Linked DNA regions of Homo sapiens: region 2 is linked to region 1. The links are contacts of gene promoters, found by promoter capture Hi-C in blood cells and fetal thymus (Javierre and others, 2016). All regions are on one chromosome and are shown on one strand. Each heading gives the region's core, a stretch centred on a gene start or on the middle of the fragment in contact. The rest is flanking DNA. Distances are from core to core; before and after follow the strand shown.

What was found. Contacts are between HindIII fragments. The CHiCAGO score rates a contact against its expected background, and 5 or more counts as called.
Region 2: the fragment with the promoter of PRSS16 here is called in contact with the fragment with the promoter of H3C11 in region 1 in 4 of 17 cell types (total CD8 T cells, total B cells, activated CD4 T cells and 1 more); the score reaches 7.7 in total CD8 T cells.

What each region holds. Positions count from the first base shown.
Region 1 is chr6:27,870,373-27,874,842 of GRCh38, forward strand. It overlaps H3C11 (H3 clustered histone 11), which reads right to left and starts at 1,974. Exons shown (of 1, transcript NM_003533.3): 1 at 1,473-1,974. The coding sequence starts at 1,943. The coding sequence ends at 1,533. It overlaps H4C13 (H4 clustered histone 13), which reads right to left and starts at 3,162. Exons shown (of 1, transcript NM_003546.3): 1 at 2,776-3,162. The coding sequence starts at 3,138. The coding sequence ends at 2,827. RefSeq lists enhancers at 1-170, 171-808, 2,724-3,361, 2,793-2,842, 3,143-3,312 and 1 more. The HindIII fragment of the contact is 2,761 bases long and covers 1-2,231 here.
Region 2 is chr6:27,245,628-27,250,097 of GRCh38, forward strand. PRSS16 (serine protease 16) reads left to right here and starts at 2,074. Exons shown (of 12, transcript NM_005865.4): 1 at 2,074-2,180; 2 at 2,255-2,421; 3 at 3,220-3,319; 4 at 3,473-3,602. The coding sequence starts at 2,111. The HindIII fragment of the contact is 3,507 bases long and covers 568-4,074 here.

The DNA.
Region 1 (4,470 bases), core at 724-3,223:
TGCGCCCTTCCTTTTTCCTTCCTTCCTCCCTTCCTTCCTTCCTTCCTTTGTTTTCTTTCGTCAGCTATCTTTAGTGATCCTGTATTTTAGGTGTGGCCCAAGACAATTCTTCTTCCAACGTGGCCCAGGGAAGACAAAAGATCGGACACCGCTGCACCAGTTGCTGGGATACATGCCTCTTTGCAAGAGTGAATCCAATATGAGAAAGGAAGGCACAGATATGAGGCTGAGCTGGCTGAGAGCACTAGGGAGAAAAATTGCCTTCACATCTCTGCCAGATATCTCCTAGGTCAAGATGTGTGCTTCAAAAAGTTTAAGAGCAAAATGAGGTCATGATAGTCACATATGTAGAGCACATGAGGAAACTCTAAAACAGCTGGAAATAATGGAAAAGTTTGGTTAGAAACCAGGAAGAGCTTTAAAATACCACTTGAAGTTTAATACCCAGACTGATTCTCTCTGAAAAAAAAAAAGAAAGAAAAAATCTCATGAAAATCCAACTCCACAGTCTATGACAAGCATATGGTGAAATGACAGGAAAATATTTTTTAAGGTCCACTTAGAGCTAGAAGTTCATTTCATAGATGACAGCATGCAGTAGGTTAAAGTATCCCTCCTCAGAGGCCCACTACCTAACACATGGCTTGCTAAACATTACATTGAAACAGAACAAAAGTGTCGAGCTTTTTGTCAAAACTGTTACTTGCATGGGGTACGATGGCAACTTTGTTATGTGCATATGCTCCAAGGTGGTCAAGTTACATGGGCTATACAAGAGCTAAATAGCTTACATTGTACCAATTAAGTAACTTATCATTCATTCTTTCCTCCCTTCTGAGTCCTTATTGTCTATTGTTCCACTCTCATGTGTGTAGTTTTTAGAGCCTGTTGTTTTTTGTATTTTTGAGGCGGAGTCTCGCTCTGTAGCCCAGGCTGGAGGGCAGTGGCGCGATCTCGGCTCACTGCAACCTCTGCCTGCCAGGTTCAAGCGATCCTCCTGCCTCAGCCTCCCGAGTAGCTGGGACTACAGGCGCGTGCCACCACGGCCGGCAGTCTTTTTTTTAGTGGACAGGGGGGTTTCACCGTGTTAGCCAGGATGGTCTTGATCTCCTGACCTTGTGATCCGCCTGCCTCGGCCTCACCAGAGCCTGTGGACACTCATTGTGCTACTTGTTCCCTTCAGTAGGGGCAGGTAGATACGCAGGAGACACATTCCTCAAGGATAAAAACAGGAATACTTTTCAAAACTAAACTTCATCTGTAAAATTGACCCCATGACATGTCTTTTTTGAGTGATAATCCTTATCAGTAGGAACAGGTTCTGTATGTGAAATTGATTTAGCATACCAACAGCCTGTGACCTGACTCCTGCATTATAGTGTGTTGGGCCACTACCACGTTTTGTCCACAGCTTGTATTTAACATGGAGCTAAGACACGTCTCAAAAGCTACAGCTTCCTTTTGGTGACAATTGAGGGGCTCTGAAAAGAGCCTTTTGGGGTTGGACAGACTTCTTGGGCTGATAGGAATATTTATGCCCTCTCCCCTCGGATGCGGCGCGCAAGCTGGATGTCTTTAGGCATAATAGTGACGCGTTTGGCGTGAATGGCGCACAGGTTGGTATCCTCAAATAGCCCCACCAGGTAGGCCTCGCAAGCCTCCTGCAGCGCCATCACCGCCGAGCTCTGGAAGCGCAGATCGGTCTTAAAGTCCTGTGCGATCTCCCGTACCAAGCGCTGAAAAGGTAGCTTCCGGATTAGCAGCTCGGTCGACTTCTGGTAGCGGCGGATCTCGCGCAGGGCCACGGTGCCGGGGCGGTAGCGGTGGGGCTTCTTGACGCCACCGGTGGCCGGAGCGCTCTTGCGAGCCGCCTTGGTGGCCAGCTGCTTGCGCGGCGCTTTGCCGCCGGTGGACTTGCGAGCTGTTTGCTTTGTTCGTGCCATGGCTAAGTAGACGTACCTACTCAACACAAATGAGAGAAAAAAACTGATCATCCCGGTATTTATAGCTGCCCTCGCGTTCTGATTGGACAGTAGACTGTGCCATGCCACGTCTCACACACGGAATTGGCTCCCAGTTTAATCTGCTAGTGAAAGGGAGACATTCCGCCTCTGTTTTGGGTCAAGAAACGTAAAATGGTTTTGCTAGCTAAAGAAAAACAAAAACGGAAACAAAAAAAAATCCCCCAAAAGTCTAGGATTTTTCATGCATCAAAATCCTGTTTAAATATAAGCTTGATAAATCTAAACTTGCCTTGCACTATTTTAATTACGAGGTGTCATTACTGATTTGACAAAAAGTTAAAGAACGTAAAGGAAAAGTGAAACTAGAGTAAATTTGTAAATGGAGGCATTGAAGGGGATATGAAATTCGAGCGTTGTGGTATGCCAGTATTTCTCAAATTTAAACGTACTTAATGTTTTAGAAGTTGGCCGACTTTTTCTGTAAAGGGCGATATTAAAACATTTTGGGCGTTGCGGACCACAGTGTCATAGTTACACAGCCCTCGCATTGGTAGCGGTAAAGTAATCGATACAAGATAAATGAGACCGGCTGTTTCATTATGACTTTTGCAAAAACCAGAGAGGCGTTATAGATTTGGCCGTGTATCAGAGAAGCCGGCACTTTTAACCACTAAGTAATGCTGAAAGGGGCACCGAACCTCAAACTTCAGCGACTGCTTATGTGGAATCGCTAATTTGCCAAAACTGCCATACGTTTAAGTGTTCTTAAGAAATTAACTATCTTTAGTCTACAGCTCTTTCACAGACTTCATGGGTGGCCCTGAGAAGGGCCTTTGAGGAACCGTGTAAGTAAGTAAAACACTCAGCCGCCAAAGCCATACAGGGTGCGGCCCTGGCGCTTGAGCGCGTAAACCACGTCCATGGCTGTGACTGTCTTGCGTTTGGCGTGCTCCGTGTAGGTAACTGCATCGCGGATTACATTCTCCAAAAACACTTTAAGAACTCCGCGTGTCTCCTCGTATATAAGGCCTGAGATGCGCTTAACGCCTCCACGCCGTGCCAGGCGTCGGATGGCGGGCTTGGTGATGCCCTGAATGTTGTCGCGCAGAACTTTGCGGTGGCGCTTAGCGCCTCCTTTGCCCAGACCCTTCCCGCCTTTGCCGCGCCCAGACATGTCTTGTACTAAACAAAATGCAACACGGCAAGCCTCGCAGCAGTACTTTATATAGTAATAAATCGGACCTGATTGGGAACTCTCCACACCAGCTGCATCCGGTCGGCCGATTCACAGACCTTGCGCCCTGCCCACGACTTCAGGAAAAAATGGAAAAGGGGGTACTTAAACTCCAGTTTCTAAAAATGATGCCCAGTTAAAAATTACTCAGCTCATCTTGCCCTTCTACAGTGTTTTAGGCTGACCACCGCTGCATTCCATTGTCTGGGTCTTTGCAGCCTGTTTTTCCTGTCACCTCTTAGCATCGATTGTTCTAGTGCTTTGTGGCTGCTGGAATCAAATGGCGCCATCTCTAGAGGGGTAATCACAGTCGTTTCGGGCATTTGTGAAATAGCGTGTAGAAACTGCTTCCGTACAAACTCGAAGTGATCAGCCTATGGAGTGGCTGACTGCAAAAGACGACGCCTGATGATAGCTCCAAGGTGGGATTCCTCACCTTTCTCAAATTTGGTTCTCTATTCTTTTCCTTATATTTTACTCTTTCTGTAGCTGTCCTTTCTGTTCCTTTCTCTCCCTCGCCAACCACATTTTTGGGGCAAGAACTTTCTATTTTTTTTTCCTCATTCCACCTAGAAACACTTCAGGAAGCTGTTTGAGAAAGAAAGGTGGCTTTTACCCTGTATTTCCTTAGAATTGTGAAGGTGCCGCTTGAGCTCCCTCATGTTCCTCTTTTCTGTTGAACTAGGAAATCAGCTGTGCCCAGAAACCCTGTCTTTTACATTTACAAATAAAGTGCAGGAGGAAAAGACCGAGGATGACTTTATTCCAAGAAAAAGAGTTTCAAATGGCCGGACGCGGTGGCTCACGCCTGTAATCCCAGCCAGAAGGGAGGCCGATGCATGTGGATCACAAGGTCAGGAGTTCGAGACCAGCCTGGCTAAGATGGCGAAACCCCTTCTCTACTAAAAATAAAGAAAATTGGCCTGGCGTGGTGGAGGGCGCCCATAATCCCAGCTACTCAGGAGGTTGAGGCAAGAAAATCGCTTGAACGCAGAAGGCGGAGGTTGCAGTGAGCCAAGATCGAGCCCCTGCACTCCATGCACTCCAGCCTGGGCAACAAAGTAAGAGTCCGTCTCAAAAAAAAGTTTCAAATAAATGTTGTGTGACCTTCCTGACCTAGGCTGGCTCTGCCTTGCCCTGCCTTCCAGCTATCAGATTTCGTTTCTCAGTAATGTTTACCTTTTATATTTCAAATGTGTATGATTATTTACCTCTTTAGCAAATATCTAATTTTATTCTAAAAATCAGTCTCTGCAAGTACATTATGAACTA
Region 2 (4,470 bases), core at 824-3,323, 620 kb before region 1:
GTCTCGAACTCATGACCTTGTGATCCAGCTGCCTCGGCCTCCCAAAGTGCTGGGATTACAAGCGTGAGCAACTGCGCCCGGCCATATATCAGTCTTTAAATAAAAGCCAAAGCCCTTTCTATGGCTTGCCAGCAGGGTTGAATCTCTGATTACTTCTCTCTTCTCATCTAATTCAAATTCCTTCATTGACTTTCCAGCCCACTAACTGTTGATGTTCCTTGGTGGTGCCAAGCAGGTTTGTGACTCAGAGTCTTTGCACCTGCTCTTTCTTGGGCCAGAAACCCTCTGACTCCAGATAACCTCATGCTCCCCCTGGCTCCTCATTCTTACCTCAAGTATTTTTTTCCCTGCCTTCCTCCCTCCCCACTCACTCCCTTGCCTCAACTCTTAGGTCACATTCTTAGGGAATTCTTTCCTGAGCAGAAAACTAATTCATTAATTAATCAATTTATCCATATAGCCTTTTGCTCACTGCATATTCATTGAGAACCTTTCAAGTGCCTTGAAGTAGTTTGGGTGTTATGGGTACACCAGTGAACAAAACAGACAAAATTGCTTCCCAGAATAAGCTTACTTCCTGGGGAATGGTTTGGGAGAGAAGTGCAATAAAATGTCATCACTATCAGGGAGTGACAACAGAAGGATCAGGGGACAGGGTCTCAGGTGTTGTGCCATTTATAAGGGTGGTCAGGTAAAACCCATTTGGTAAGATAAAATATATGAATGGGGAACTATAGGAAGTGATAAAATAAGACTTGCAGATATTTGGAGGAAAAGCATCCTAAGGAGAGCAAAAATTCTAAGGAAGGAGTGAGTCTTGTGAAATATGAAATAGTCCAATGCAGTTGGAGCAGTGAACCCAGGAGGGGTAGGAGATGAAATCATGACAGTATATACAACAGGGGGCCAGGTCATACAGAGTTTTAAAAACTGTTTTCAAAACTTTAGATTTACTTTGAGTAAGATGGGGCATCAGGGAAGTGTTCTAAACCAGGGAGTGAATGATTGTGAATGATTGGGCTAATATTTAATTCTGTCTCTCTGTCTGCTGAGTGTAGAATAAATCATGAGGCAGAAACAGGGTGACCAGCTAAAAGCCTTCCATGATATCCCAAGTCAGAGATGATGGTGGCTCAGCAGTGGTAGCACTGAAGGTAGTGAGAAGTCATCAGATTCTGGATATATTTTTTAAATTTATGGGAATAACTTTTTAAATGTACAATATTTCTCATAGTGATAAGTCCCATGAAAAAGAATTAGGAATAAAGTTTGAAAAGGAATAGAAGAGGGCCATAGGTTTGGCAATTTTTAAAAAGCTGACCATGGAAGACCTTTCTGAATGAATGACCTTTGAATAAAGATCCAGTTGAAGTGAGGGAGCAAACCACGTGGGTATATAGGGAAATCACAATCCATAGGGTGGGAACAACAAGAATAAGAACCCTAAGGCAGAAGCAAGCCTGGTATGTTCAAAGAACTGTAAGGAGTCTATGGACAGTGTGAGATTGTGGGTCAGAGAAGCTCGGGACAGTGAAGCAGAGCAGAAAGTGAGGGGGCTGGAAAATAGACAAGGTGAGATTGGGGGACAAAGAGATGAGTATGGAGAGAAAGACTGAAAAAGAGATGGGGGACTGAGAAAAAAGAGACGGAAAGACTGAGTGTGGGAACAACTGAGGGGTACTGAAGATATGCTGAGGGGCAGAAAGAAAAGACTGAGAATAAGTGGGCAACTGGGGTTCCAGAGGAGGTGCTGAGGTGGGGAGAGACAGAGGTTGAAGGACAATAAGGCATGCAAAGGAGGAATCTGAGATAAAGAGAAGGTAGACCGAAGAGCGGAGAGGAGGAGACTGAGACAGCGAGGGCTACTGAGAGCTGAGGGAAGAACAGACTGAGAGGCCCAGAGAGAAGAAACTGGGAGTTCCGATGCTGCATCAGCAGCCTCTGTGTACAGACTCTGGCGTCCCTGCCCCGCTTTAGCAGTTCCTACAGACGCTTGACCTGCCAGGAAAGGAAAGAAACCTGAGCCTCTGCTGAAAGGTGATGGATTTAAGGCCCGGCTGCTGAGGATAAGATAAAGGTCCTCCTGGGGGAGAACAGAGTCCCGAACACCATGGCCGTCTGGCTTGCCCAGTGGCTGGGCCCTCTGCTCTTGGTTTCCCTCTGGGGACTCTTGGCTCCAGGTAAGAGGAGGCTGAGGGTCAAGCAGGGCATCCTAAGGGGGCCAGCCTGACTTCCTTCCCTCCATGTCCCACAGCCTCCCTTCTTAGGCGCCTGGGTGAGCACATTCAGCAGTTTCAGGAGAGCTCTGCCCAGGGCCTGGGCCTGAGCCTGGGGCCAGGTGCTGCAGCCCTCCCAAAAGTGGGGTGGCTGGAGCAACTGCTGGACCCCTTCAACGTGTCCGACAGACGATCCTTCCTACAGGTGAGGCCGGGAGACGGGGAGTCCACTAACCATCCTGCCCTCTCCTCAGTCTCCCTCATCTCTTCCTCAGTCTGCACTTTTTTCTCTCTCCACACCTCAGTTCTCCCCATCCCTCTGCTTGAATCTCATGTTATGCTTGCTGTCAGTATCCCTTTTCCTGCCCTTTGTAGATTTGGCCTTACTCTCTCCTCTCCTCGGGGTCCCACTCGTTTTGTCCCTCAGATCTTGCCCTTCACCATTTCTTTCTCTCTGTCATTCACATTCACTGCTCCTCCCTACCCCCTTGTCCCTGTCCAGACTGGACACAAAACCTACCACCAGGTCTCAGTAGGTAGCAGAAATTTGAACCAGCTTTGGAATCAGACCTAGCTCACAACAGGCACTCAAAGATATCTATCGAAAGAAGGAACAAATTCGCCATTTTTCAGTGCTTCCTCTGTATTTAGTCTCCAAATATCATCCCACTTGGATCTTATTCCTAAATCCATCTGCATTTATTTCTTATTTTACAATTATTACTTCAAGAAATAGCAAGTTCCTTCAATGTGAGAGCCACTCCCTCAGTTCTGGGGATATAAGAGTGAAAAACCAGGTCAAAAATTTGCTTTTGTATATTTTGCATTCTAGATGAGGAGATGAACAGGGGAAAAGTGAGCAAGTAAATAAACAAGCTCATTTCAGACACTGTTAAGTACATAAGGAAAGATCCATTAGGAAGAGAGACTGGAACAAATGAGGAATTGAGAATAAGTCAGGACTCTCACAGTGCCATTTCTTCTTCCCCATCCCACCTCTCAGCGTTACTGGGTGAATGACCAACATTGGGTTGGCCAGGATGGACCCATATTCCTGCATCTAGGGGGTGAGGGCAGCCTTGGGCCTGGCTCAGTGATGAGAGGTAAGAGGCAATGTTGGGGGAAAGGAGTTGGGATGCTGGTGGGGACCAGGAAGGGGAGCTGCATATTGCAATGCTGTGAGACCTGAGGAGTGAAAGGGCTTAAACTCAACTTGCATCTCACCTCCCCACCCCCCACCCATACACTCTTCACAGGCCATCCCGCAGCCTTGGCCCCAGCCTGGGGCGCCCTGGTGATAAGCCTGGAACACAGATTTTATGGCCTGAGTATACCTGCTGGAGGCCTGGAAATGGCCCAGCTCCGCTTCTTGTCCAGCCGCCTTGCGTGAGTGGAGGAAGGGAAAGTGTTTATGGTCAAAGGACAGGAATGTCTGTGCTTTGGCATCTCTGCATCTGTGTCTCTCTCCTCCACTGTCTGAAGTCAACCTCTGAGTCTCTGGTTCCCTCTGTTTTCTTCTGTGTTTCATAGGGTCTTGTTTTTTCTCTTTCCATTTCTGGGTCTCTGACTCTCCCTATCTGTCTTTCTCTTATCCTGTGTTCTTTCTATTTCTGCGTCTCTGTCTGAAGTAAGCCACTGTATCACTGTGCAGACCACCAGCATTCCTTACCTGGATTACGGCCACAGCATTCTCACCATTTTTCCTGCTCTGCCCTTGACTTCCAGGTGGAAATCAGAGTAATTCTGTTAGAGCATAAACCAGGACATGATCCTCCCTGGCTTAAGTCCCTCAGACATCTTCTGTATTGCTTCAGAAGTAAAGCAATTTTGACTGTATTTGACTTCAGAGTAAAGTCAAAGCTTTTACAGTCGCCATGGAGTCCAGTGGGTTTTGGCCTCTAGTTAACTCTGACCTATACTCTCTCACTTTCACTGGGCTCCAGCTACATTGAAGTCCTCACTGTCCTCCAGACTTACACGCACATTCCTGCCTTGAGCCTTTGAACTCATCCCTCTGCATGGCGTGGCCTTCCCCTAGATGTTTTTATGCCTCTCACCCCAGCCTCCTTCAGTGCATCTCACTCCTATTAACGACCGCCACCATTTTTCCAACTTTACTTCACCTGCTTTTTGTTTCTTTCATCTGCTTTATTCTTACAGAACTTAGCTTTTTCTTTCCTCATTGGTATCTCTGTCTGTGTCTGTAACAGTCTGTTTGCCTGTCTCATTTTCTCCGTCTCTGTATCTACATCTG